3 separate regions of the Homo sapiens genome follow, and all the other regions are linked to region 1. The links are contacts of gene promoters, found by promoter capture Hi-C in blood cells and fetal thymus (Javierre and others, 2016). All regions are on one chromosome and are shown on one strand. The core of a region is centred on a gene start or on the middle of the fragment in contact, and the rest is flanking DNA. Distances in the headings are between cores, read along the strand shown. Region 1 holds the start of TAX1BP3 (Tax1 binding protein 3). Region 2 overlaps RAP1GAP2 (RAP1 GTPase activating protein 2). Region 3 has its middle 12 kb from the start of RAP1GAP2.

Region 1 (4,117 bases), core at 4-2,503:
TCTTTCCTTATGTAGGCCCTTAGGGCCCGTTTCTGAATGGCCTATGTGTAAATACAAGGACTTAACACAAGGCTATGGCCCATTCCTTGCTCTCCAGGAGTCAAATCTCGGCGATTTTGCATCAGTGGCAGCCTAAGCGTTACAGCAGGAAAGAACTCCACAAAGTGTCTCACGCTTCATTTAATCTGAAGAATATTACAGGCTCTCCGTCTTCAGATATAAATTATTTATAACGTTACAGAACAAGCAGCGAATTCAACCACTTAAGAACTAAGGAAGTCTACATGGTGTTAATTGCTGGCCACAGTCCTCCCGATCTGGTTTTTTAAAAAAGTCCCCCGGGCCCCCATTTCAGTAGACGTGCACCATGCCGTAGAGGAACGTCCAGAACAGGACGTAGGTGAAGAGGCCCCCGATGAGGCCTCCTGTAAAGAGAGGTCTCCGTGATTTGAAATATTTGTTCCACCTCCTTCCCGCCTTGAGAATGAGGAGCAGGGAGAGCAGGACGGAGGCGAGCAGGTAGAAGATGAAGCCGTAGAGGCCGGTGAGGCCGAGGATGCCGGCCGTGGCCCCCGACAGCGCTGACACCGAGGTCCGGCAATAATCCAGGACGGCGGCGTTGCCCCGCACGGCCGCCTCGCTGATGAACGGCGGCCCTTCCCGCTTGGCCACCACCGCGGCCATCGCACCAGCCCGGGCTCGGCCTCTCGCTTTCTCGCGGAACAACGCGGAGCTGCGGAGAAAACCAAGTTACAAGTGGCGCCCGGAGCTCGGTGAGTTGGGTTCACGCCGCCCCCTCCCCCTGGAGCTTCCGAGACCTGGCACCAGTCCTGGGCCTCGGATCTTCCAAAGACGCCGAGGAGATTGAGGGTCCGGGCCGGCCGGGAGGTGGTGGCGCGTCTGCGTTCCCCGGCCACGGTGGCCCAGTTACCTGGAACACGGCGCCGGACACACTACTTAGCGTTCCCTCAGACGGGCAGTGGAAGAAATGCCCGCGGCGCCATCTTGCTCGGAAGACTGCCGGGAGGTCTCGGGCTGCGCACGCGCCCAGATCCCGCCCCGCCCTCCGCGCCTGCGCCGTGGGCGCCCCGGACACGCTCCGCCCTCTGCCCGCTTTTCTGCGCACGCGCAGGGACTTCCGAAAGCGGAGTGGCGCTCCGGCCAGTGATTGGCTGGAGGTTTGTTAACTATTCATGAGGGGGCGGGCCGAGCGGGGCGGCCTTTGTTAAGCAGCGAGGGCGCGACCGCGGGTACTCTGCTGCCGGCTTCTCGGAGCGGCGCTGGGCGACCAGAGCAGGGTCGAGATGTCCTACATCCCGGGCCAGCCGGTCACCGCCGTGGTGGTGAGTGCGCTTGCGCGGGCTCCTCCTCGTCTTGGCCTGACCCCACCTCGCAGAGCGGGAAACGGACACCCCAAGCAGGTTGACAGAGCATCGAACCCGGGGCTCCTGCGAACCGGCGGCAAGGGCTCGGGTCCCCGCTTTGCCGGAGCGGGCCGCAGTTCCCCCAGCCACGAAACAGGGATGGCCGGGACCCGAGAGCCTCCCGAGACCCTGGACAGAGCCCAGACTGCGTGCGCAGGGCGGGGAGGGCCACGGGGAAAGGCCTGGCTGCAGGAGCCTGGAAAAGCGCCCCCTTCCCGGGCCTCCGTGTCCCCAGACGGGGAGCTGCTGGGGGCGGGCGCCGATCCCGACGTCCATGAGTCGCAGCCTCTGGAATGAGGAAATGCTTCCTCCGCTGCAGCCTGCGCCGCCGCCCGGAGGGAGATCTGGGGGTGGGGCTCTCCCGAGCCTGCCGTGGCAGCCCCTGCCCCCTTCCTGTCCAGCCTTGCTCCTCCAACCCACTCGCCGCCTGGTCCAGGGTGGACGCTCGTATAGCTGCGATGAGCGTTTCCTCTTCGAACTTTTCCTGGGTCTCCAGCCCTTAAGGCAAAAAAGTCCAGGCCTCCCTCCTGGCACTTGAGTCCTGAGTAGACCCTCCGGGGGCTAGCCTAGGCCCCTGGCCGCCCTCTGGCTTGTTTTAGGTGCTGGGTGCTATTAGACTAGGCAGAGGGAGGAAGGAAGGCTGGGACGTTAGACTCAGACGCCGGTGTCACAGAGGGACACAACCCTATGACAGAGGTGGGGAGTCCCAGAGAGAAGTGCTCAGCCAGAAAAGACCACCTCAGGAAAGACTCAGGTCTCCTGCCTACCTCCCGACAGCGTTCAGAGAATGAGAAGAAATGCCTGCCCGGTGGGCAGTAGGTCAAGCGAAAGTCCCCGCCCTGGAGCCATAGGGACTGGGTGTGTTATCTCAGTTGGGTGTGCTGGAGAAGCTCCAGCAATCAGGTGGGTGGAGGCAGAGAAGCCACTGATAAAGGCGACAAGTGAGGCTGAGCTTAGAGCACTGGCTCAGGCCTGGGCCAGGAGGAAACATTGCTGGACCAGCTGACAGCTGTCCTAAGCTTCACCCTCCCTGCACCAGCTTGACTTTTTTTTTTTTTTTTTTTTTGAGACAGTCTTGCTCTGTCGCCCAGGCTGGAGTACAGTGGCGCGATCTCGGTTCATTGCAACCTCCGCCTCCTGGGTTCAAGCGATTCTCCTGCCTCAGCCTCCCGAGTAGCTGGGATTACAGGCATGCACCAGCATGCCCAGCTAATTTTTGTATTTTTAGTAGAACGGGGTTTCACCATGTTGGCCAGGCTTGTCTTGAACTCCTGACCTCTGGTGATCCACCTGCCTCAGCCTCCCAAAGTGCTGGGATTACAGGCGTGAGGCACCACACCCGGCCCAGCCTGGCTTTTTTAGATCCCTACCTGCCCCAGAGAGAAGGCACCAGGTTTGCTCTTTAGGTAGAAGGGGGGCAGGGACAGGTGAGGAGCTACAGCAAGCCACCTTCTGCGTGACCTCACCCAGCAAATCAGTGACAGCCCTGTCTCCCAACCCAAGGGCCTGTAATCTTCTGACCGTGCCGGCAGAGCAGGCCTGGAGGAGCTCAGTTTGGGGCATGAGGACCCAGGCACAGTAGGCCTCATGCTTCCTGCCCCCCTCCCTCACGCCATAACTGGTCCCAGGGCCTTCCCCAAAACTGCAGGCCCATGCCCCCTAATTCTGGTAACACCAGGAACGTGCCTGGACATGGTGTGTATGGTCTGGCCTCTCCCTCGAGTCTTGGATTGGGGATGGGTTTGGGCAGGCTCACTCCCCAGTCCCCACCCTCTCCCATGTAGAATCCTGAGAATATTAAAGACATTTAGGCCATTCTTCTGAACCCTGGCTCCATAGATCCATCTGCCTTCTGGACACCTGCCCCGCAGCTCCTGGCACTCCAACCTAACCTGCTCCTCCTCCTCCTGGGTCCCCATCTGAATAATGTGTGTTCAGCCAGGCACGGTGGCTGGGTGCTCCTCTTGACTCCTCTCCTCCATGAGTGGTCCCTAAGTCTGTAGATCTCCATTTTCAGGTAGCTCCATGTCCCCCGGCCTCTGCACCTTGCTTTTGTGAGATGTCCGTTCCTCTACTGATTACCTGAGTGGTCATTCTAGCAGCAAACCTGACCATGCCCTACCCTACTCCGTTCCTGAGAACTCCAGTGGGTTCAGGATCAAGGTCAGGCTACCCATCACCCCCTCAAAGCCTGGTGCAAATAATCCTCCCTTTGGGAAACTTCTTTAGGTCTAGTCTAGATTGTGGTCTTCTGCTTTTTTCTTTTCTCCTTCCTGTTAAAACTTGACTTTGGGAGTGATCTGGTCTGGCTCCCAGCATCTGCTGACTGGACGGCGCTTGCCAAGGGCTTTGAAAAGAACCTGGCACAGTTGGGGACCATAGCCCCAGAGCATGGTGGGAACACCCCAGAGCATGGTGGGAATGCCCCAGAACACTCGTTTCTGCACAAGAGCAGGGTCTGGGGCTTAGGGAGACACCCCTGCTCCCCTTCCAGGACGGGATCTGGCCCCAGCCTTACACTTTCAGCCTCATCTCGCCTCCCAGTTCTGTGTCCTGCACTGGACACTCCAGTCTCACGAACACGTATCCACGGCACCCTGTGCGCTGGTCCCCGTGGCCGGCAAGCCCTTCCTCTCCTTTCTTTTTTTTTTTTTTTTTTTTTTTGGAGCCCAGAGATCCTTTATTTTTTTTTG
Region 2 (3,670 bases), core at 272-2,771, 820 kb after region 1:
GCTCAGCCAAGTTGCAGGAAGCAAATGGCAACACCGGCGCATGGAGCCGCCTGGGCTGGATCAATGGCATCCGCGGCTGCAGGCTTGGGGAACGGGGTCGCGGTCTGCAAAGGGTCTGGGGGCGACGGACTTGGGGTCCCTCCGTCAGGGATCCACCCCGATGCGCCCTCCCAGCGGCCCTCCGATTCCGCCAAGGTCCTGCCCAGGCTCCTCGCACCAGCCAGGGTCCGGGGCGAAGCTCCGAACTCGGTTCGCACGACGGTACCTGGAGAGGAGGCTTTTTTCTAACCAACACGGAACCAAACACCCATCGGAAAAGTCCACCCCAAAGAAAACTGGCATGCAGCAGGAGAGCGGAGGGAAGCGGCCGGCGCTGCAGGGGTTTACCTTTTCTCTTTATTCTGCCTCCGGGATTTGTGCAGGAGTCCGATGAGCACCACGGCGGCGCGGATCCCCGCCTTTCGGCAATGCCTCCTCCCCGCGGGCTGGGACATGGCGAGGCCGCCCGCGGTGCCCGACCTCGCCCGCCCGCGTCCCCGCAGCCCCGGCTCCGCGCGCTCCGCACCCGGCCCCTGAGCCCGCGCCCCGGCCCCCGGCCTCCGCCTCGCATGGGCCCCGCCCCGCCTAGGTGCGCCCCGGGGGTCAGGTGACCGCGCGCTCTCCCCTCCCTCCCGGCGACCTTCAGCGTCTCCTCGGGGCCCGCGGGGCAGCCGCCGTCCGCTCCCCCGGCGCGGGCATTTCCGAGGCTCGCTCGGGGCGCGGCCCGGGCCGGCGGCTCCCGGCTCCCGCTCAGACGCGCCGCCCGCGCCGGGACCCGCCCCGGCCCCGCCTCCCGCGCCCCGGCCTCGGCCGCCCGGATGGTGGAGGACGCGGGGCACAGGGAGCGGGCGAAGCGCAGGAGGAGGCGGACAGCGCTCCCGGGACCCCCCTGCCCGGCTCCCAGGCGCCCTCCCCGGCCCCGGCCCTGCCTCCCCTCGCCCGCTCCTTCTGGTCCCCGCCCGCACTCCCGCCGGCGGCCCCGAGCTCCCTCCCCAGGCAGAGGCGGCTGCCGCCCTCCCCGGCCCGGCCCCGGATACTTCCCCGATGCTGTCACTGCTTTTAAAACAGAGGGAGAGAAAACAGGCACCAAGAGGAAACGCGCGTCCTCCTCCGTCCAAACGAAACTGCCCGCGCGCGGTCCCCGTCCCCTCCCGGCCGCCCAGCGCTTACAGGGGGCACCTGAGCCCGGCGCCCGCCCCGGCTCGCAGCTCCCGGGCCCGGGTCCCCGGGTGGGAGCTTGCGGATGGGAGGAACGAGGCGGAATTCTGCCCCCGCCTCCCCGCAGAGTCGGCGCAAGGATCGCCGAGCTGGGATGCAGAGTGGGCTGGGGTCGGCTCCCCGCGAACACTGGCTCTCCCGGCCCTGGGAGTTTGACTCCACATGGGTTCAATAACCAACTTCACGGCGACCCCGCTTCCTCCTGGCGGGCCGGGCGCCCCCCACTCCGCCCTCCCCGCGCCCACCCGGGCCTGGCCGCTGCGCACTCGTCGCGTGGTCCCTCCCGCCCCTGCCAGCCGCGCGCGAGCCTCATCTCCTTCGGAAAGGAAGGGCGGAAGGTCGGAAGGTCGGAAGGTCGCGCCGGCTCCTGGGGAAAGGGCTGTGGCCTGGTCCCTACCATCGGCGCGGGGCCTCGCTCACAATCGCCCTCATCCACTTCCAGGTGCTGCCCAGCCTCCCAGCCCCCTCCCGCCTCACCCCTCCGAAGCATCACTCACAGCTTTGCCCCTCTAGGGAAAAGGAAGTGGGCAGGGGGCTGAAAGGAATTAGAACAAGCCAATTAGTCCATCTTTGGGGCCGAAGAGGTTCCCCCTGAGGCAATTTGCCTTGTTTTTTGTTGTTGTTTTGTTTTTTGTTTTGTTTTTAATAGTCTGGTGTTCAAGCAAACACAGAAAATCCAGGCAGGGAGGGGACCATGCTGGGTGGAGAGGGGAGAGGGACTGCAAACGAATTCGAGGGCCTGAGGCTTCAGCCCTGCCTCTCCAATGCCCACAGCTTCCTGCTGGCACTGGAGTTGGGGTGGAGGGGAGGAAGCCCCAGGGTGGTTCTTAAATGCACCTGGTCTATTTATGAAGCAGCCGTTACCACTGGCCTTGTGCCCCCCACCCCCACCCCCACCCCCTCCCTGCCGGGGTTGTGGGGGATCAGAGATATAGATAGCCATGGACATCTTTTTATAGCTAGAGATTTGAATGACCCGGGCCCCACTCCTGAGATTGGCGGTTAGGCAGGCTGCAAGTACTATGCCAGTAGTGACTTAAGAATTGGTCTGGAAAAAGAATAAAATGAGTGTCCTTGGTAGAGAAAAGGGAAGAGCTCCCAGCAGCATGCAACCCAGAGCTTCTCTTCCCCTCTCTCCCACCGCGCTATAGCACACAGCACCCGAGGACCCACAGGTTAGCTGATGGACCGCTTCAGTTAGATGGCAGGGAAGGTGATGAGGGCGCTGGCTTAGGTCTATCCTAGCGTTGGGTGTATTTTACCCACACACAGAAGGCTGCACCTCAACGGAAGGCCTGATCCTCCTTCCCAGCAGGTGAGAGTGTGGGAGCTAGTTCAGGTCAAGTGCACAGTGGGTAACAGGGTGGCTCACACCTGTAATCCCAGCACTTTGGAAGGCCGAGGCAGGCAGGTGGATCACTTGAGTTGAGACCAGGAGTTCTAGACCAGCCTGGGCAACATAGTGAGACCCCACCTCTCCAAACAACTACAACAGGGAATTGGGATGATGAAGGCACAAAATCCACCATGCAGGTTCCATTATTCATTCTCTTATTCTGGGGTTCCCAGCCCTCTAAGTCCTTCTACAAGCCCAGTGTCACTGCAAACACAAGGCTGTCCCCCAAAAAATCGTAACCTCTCAGCCCCTGACTCCTGAGTCTCTAAGAGGTAGAATTTTCCTGGCAGTGAGAGGTCCCATCCTTCTGCCCCTGCCCTACAAGCTCGCCACCTTTGGTGCATAAACAGCAATTTCCCCTCTTAACTCCCACTCCAGCCCCCACAGCCCATCACACCCACACCCCACAGAGGGGACCCCAAAGCACAAGAAAACCCATCAATAGCAGAGACTGGAACAACCATCAATGCTAGGCTTACCCATTCCACCAGCATTTATTAAACATGTACAGTATGTCCAGCTTTATGCAAGAGACCAGGGCAAGAAAGAAAAATGGAAGACCATCCCTGCCCGAAACAAACAGGGTTAACACACTCCAAACCTCAAAAGAAGACCATTTCCAGCCAGTGTGTGCAGTTAGCCCAGCCAAAGCTTCCCACAATTGGGCCACACGCCACCTCCTTCATAATTCTTTGTCTTAGTGTCATGCTGCTCTGCTGTTTATAATTTTGCTTTAATTACATCAACTTACTTTTTCACTTTTTTTTTTTTTTTTCTTGAGACGTTGTTTTGCTCGTCGCCCAGGCTGGAGTGCAATGGCACGGTCTTGGCTCACTGCAACCTCCACCTCCTGGGTTCAAGCGATTCTCCTGGCTCAGCCTCCTGAGTAGCTGGGACTACCGGCATTCGCCACCACATCGGGCTAATTTTGTATTTTTAGTAGAGACGGGGTTTCGCCATGTTGGCCAGGCTGATCTCGAACTCCTGACCTCAGGTGATCCGCCTGCCTTGGCCTCC
Region 3 (4,035 bases), core at 520-3,019, 880 kb after region 1:
AAATTAGCCGGGCATGGTGGCACCTGCCTGTAATCCCAGCTACTCAGGAGACTGGGGCAGGAGAGTCGCTTGAATCCGGGAGGCAGAGGGTGCAGTGAGCCCGAGACCACGCCACTGCACTCCAGCCTGGGCAACAGAGTGAGACTCCATCGCAAAACATTAAAAAAAAAAAAAATTGAAGAAAAAAAAAGAAAAGAAAGGCTTGGACCGTGGGGGCTGTCTGAAGGAGCTTCTCACTAAAGGAGAACACACAGCCAACTCTGCCCACACCCACCCAGCTGGGTCACTCCCGCCCTCCCCTGCTAAGGCGGGGCACCTGGCGCCTCCCAGGACCGGCCAGAAGGTGGGCGTTTGCGCCCTCTGCAGGCAAGCTTGGGTGGTGCGAGGAGGAAAGGGAGCGTCTTCCTGGGCTTGTTTCTAGGATGGCAGCCATGTTGCCCTCTGGCGGAAGGGGTTGAAGGGAGGGGGAAATCCTCCTCCTGCAAAAGATAAGCAACCACCACCTGGTGTCAGAACACACGGATTCCAGCCCCAGTCCTGACATTAAATGTAGCTGTGAGGAAACCACTTAAACTCCCTCTGCCTCAGGTTTTTCATCTGTAAAGAATAACTCCAGGCTGGGCGCGGTGGCTCACGCCTGTAATCCCAGCACTGTGGGAGGCCGAGGCGGACGGATCACCTGAGGTCAGGAGTTCGAGATCAGCCTGGCCAACATGGTGAAACCCCGTCTCTCCTAAAAATACAAAATTAGCCAGGCATGGTGGCACATGCCTGTAATCCCAGCTACGCAGGAGGCTGAGGCAGGAGAATCGCTTGAACCCGGGAGGTGGAGGTTGCGGTGAGCCGAGATCTGACCACTGCACTCCAGCCTGGGCAACAAGAGCAAATCTCTGTCTAAAAAAAAAAAAAAAAAAAAGTCATACTTTTTACTTCCTTTCATCTTTACCATACCACAGTCTCCCTCCTGGTAAGTAACTGGAGCCTCAGAGAGGTTAAGAGACTCGTCCAAGGTCACAGTGTAGCAGGACGAGCCACAGACAAAACTCCTCAGACACCGGATTAAAGAAGGAAGAGGTTTTTATTCGGCCGGGAGCATCGGCAGACTCGCGTCTTAAGAACCGAGCTTCCCGAAAAAGAAATTCTTGGCCTTTTTAAAGGCTTACAACTTAAAGGGGTCCACGTGAAAAGGTCGTGATACATCAAGCAAGCGTGGGAAATGTGACTGGGAGCTACATGCATCAGCTAACAGAACAAAAAGTTTCACAATGCTTTTTTCATACAGTGTCTGGAATTTACAGATAACAAAAGTAGTTTAGGTCAGGGGTTGATGTTATAATTATCACTTTTTTTAACTCCTAGGGCCGGGTGGTGGTGCCAAGGTTGTCTGGCTATTTATCTTACTTTTTTTTTTTTTCCAACTTTTTGCTTTTTCTCTCCTCCTATCTTGTGAACTAGGCAAGGTGGGGGCAGGAGGGCAGCAGGAGGAGCAGTGGTCTCCTTCCTTAACAGGGCTGGAAGGTGACAGAATTCAAACCCAGAGTCCCCCTTTGAGCCCTTCTGCCATTCCTTCAGGGAAGGCTCAGAGGAGAGCAGGCCCTAAATGAGGGCTGCGTTAGATGGGAGACACTGCCAGGCTGGGCTCGTGCAAACCCCCAGATTCTTCCTGGGCCCCCTGCCAACGCTCTGCTCAGGAGCAGCCCTAACCTGGGCCACAAGGAGCAAACCCTGAGATTCCTCCCTGAGGCCAGCAAGCGAGGCAGGGGGATGATGCCGCAGGGGGATGATGCCGCAGGCAGATGAACAGTGACTCAGGTGGAAGCAGGCGGCAGGGACAGGGAGAAGCGGAGAGCTCCCTCAGCTCAAACACAGCATGTTCAGGCCTCACCATCTTGATTTTTCCTGGATAAAGATGGGGGTCTGGTGGGGTTCATCCCAGCCCCAAGCCCAGAGCAATTCTGCCTGAGCCCCACCCTCATGGTATCTCCATCAGCAACATGTGTCCCAGGCCCCTTGAAGGGAGCAGGGCTGACCTGTAATGAGATAATAAACTGGGACAGAAAAGGCCTTTCCCATTCAAGTTCCCCCTTCTCTCATTACGGGCCCCACCCTCAGCAGGGCTCTGCACAGTAAGATGCCTCCTGGACTACATGAGAGTAGGCGGGGATCTGGGGACAGACCCAAGCCTCACCTGTGGCCAGGGGATCAGTGAGCAAAAGTGTAGCTGCTGCTAAAAGAATAAACTGCTGGCCGGGCGCGGTGGCTCACGCCTGTAATCCCAGCACTTTGGGATGCCGAGTCGGGCGGATCACTTGAGGTCAGGAGTTCAAGACCAGCCTGGCTAACATGGCAAGACCCTGTCTCTACTAAAAATACAAAAATTAGCCAGGTGTCATGGCAGGCACCTGTAGTCCCAGCTATTTGGGAGGCTGAGGCAGGAGAATCGCTTGAGTCCGGGAGATGGAGGTCGCAGTGAGCCGAGATCACGCCACTGTACTCCAGCCTGGGCGACAGAGCGAGACTCTGTCTCTAAATAAATAAAAATAGGCCAGGCGTGGTGGCTCACGCCTGTAATCCCAGCACTTTGGGAGGCCGAGGAGGACAGATCACAAGGTCAGGAATTCGAGACCATCCTGGCTAACACAGTGAAACCCTCGTCTCTACTAAAAATACAAAAAATTAGCCTGGCGTGGTGGCATGGACCTGTAGTCTCAGCTACTTGGGAGGCTGAGACAAGAGAATCACTTAAACCCGGGAGGTAGAGGTTGCAGTGAGCCGAGATTGCGCCACTGCATTCCACCCTGGGCAACAGAGCAAGACTCCATCTCAATAAATAAACAAATAAAATAAAAAGTGAAATAGCTTCCACCTGGCTCTCTTTCTGGGCATGCTTGTCCCTTAGCTCAGCCACCATGCTGGGAGGAAGCCCAATCTAGCATGTGGAGACAGCACATAGAGAGGCCCATGTGCAGAGGAACTGACCCAAAGCCAACAGCCAGCAAGAAACGCCAGACGTGTGAGCGACTAAGCCTTCAGATGGCTTCAGCCCCTAGACCTTGAAACACTCCAGACAATGCTGAGTGGAGAAGCGTTATCCCCACTGAACCCTGCCCATGTTGCAGATTCATGGGCAAAATCAGTGTCACCAGTGTTTTAAGCCATAAGCTTTGGGTGGTTTATTAAGCAGCATTAGATAACCAGAACACTGGCAGGACCAGAATTTGAACCAAGCAAGCTGGCTCCAGAGCCTGTGCTCCTGCCACTCTGCAACAGTCCCTGTTGTGTAAGAGACAGTATATAGGAGGGATTTCAAGCTTAGGTCTGGAGTCAGTCCTCTCTTCATTCATTAATTCATTCATTCATCAAATGTTTATTGCATCCCTACTGTGTTCCAAGCTGTCTTCCAGTTCTAAGAATATTTTAGTAAGCAAGACAGACAGGTCCCTGCTCTAGGTGGGGAAGAGGGGGTTAGGAAGTAGAGGATAAATGAGGGCTACCTTTATGCAGGTATTTACAATAGGGTGATCCGATCCAAATGGGACCAGATGGCTAGGGAGTCCTGTGTAGAGGGGGTGATCTGGGATGGCCTCTCTGAGAGGGAGACTGCCAAGACGAGACGGACACAGCTTCACAGCTTTGTGAAGAGCGGAGGGAACAGCAGAAGAACGGGTCTGGGTTCAGAACCCGGCTCCATCACTTACTAGCTGTGTGACCTTGTGGAAGTAACCCAGGCTCTCTGAGCCTCTACTTCCTCATAAAATGGGAAAACTTCCTCATAAAATGGGGATGGTTTGTTTGTTTTGAGACGGAGTCTTACTCTGTCACCCAGGCTGGAGTGCAGGGGCACGATCTGGGCTCACTGCAGCCTCCACCTCCCAGGTTCAAGAGATTCTCCTGCCTCAGCCTCCAAAGTAGCTGGGATTACAGGTGCTCACCACCACACCCGGGTAATTTTTTGTATTTTTAGTAGAGACGGGGTTTCACCATGTTGGCCAGGCTGGTCACGAACTCCTGACCTCAGATGATCCACTCACCTTG

What was found. Contacts are between HindIII fragments. The CHiCAGO score rates a contact against its expected background, and 5 or more counts as called.
Region 2: a fragment that was not itself captured here is called in contact with the fragment with the promoter of TAX1BP3 in region 1 in 2 of 17 cell types (M1 macrophages and megakaryocytes); the score reaches 5.9 in M1 macrophages.
Region 3: a contact is called between a fragment that was not itself captured here and the fragment with the promoter of TAX1BP3 in region 1, in 2 of 17 cell types (monocytes and fetal thymus). The highest score is 6.3, in monocytes.

The regions. Positions count from the first base shown.
Region 1 is chr17:3,665,714-3,669,830 of GRCh38, reverse strand. TAX1BP3 (Tax1 binding protein 3) reads left to right here and starts at 1,253. Exons shown (of 4, transcript NM_014604.4): 1 at 1,253-1,343. The coding sequence starts at 1,305. EMC6 (ER membrane protein complex subunit 6) reads right to left here and starts at 1,019. Exons shown (of 2, transcript NM_031298.4): 1 at 932-1,019; 2 at 166-733. The coding sequence starts at 684. The coding sequence ends at 352. It overlaps P2RX5-TAX1BP3 (P2RX5-TAX1BP3 readthrough (NMD candidate)), which reads left to right. Exons shown (of 15, transcript NR_037928.1): 12 at 1-773. It also overlaps the pseudogene RPL21P125. RefSeq lists enhancers at 1-333, 334-864, 1,397-1,927, 1,928-2,459 and a silencer at 966-1,305. The HindIII fragment of the contact is 10,539 bases long and covers 1-2,445 here.
Region 2 is chr17:2,850,820-2,854,489 of GRCh38, reverse strand. All of the region lies in intron 2 of RAP1GAP2 (RAP1 GTPase activating protein 2), which reads right to left. Among named protein-coding and RNA genes, the nearest start is that of RAP1GAP2, 56 kb to the right of the region's middle. The HindIII fragment of the contact is 3,571 bases long and covers 1-3,306 here.
Region 3 is chr17:2,782,781-2,786,815 of GRCh38, reverse strand. It overlaps a transcript of RAP1GAP2 not described here. Among named protein-coding and RNA genes, the nearest start is that of RAP1GAP2, 12 kb to the left of the region's middle. The HindIII fragment of the contact is 2,791 bases long and covers 374-3,164 here.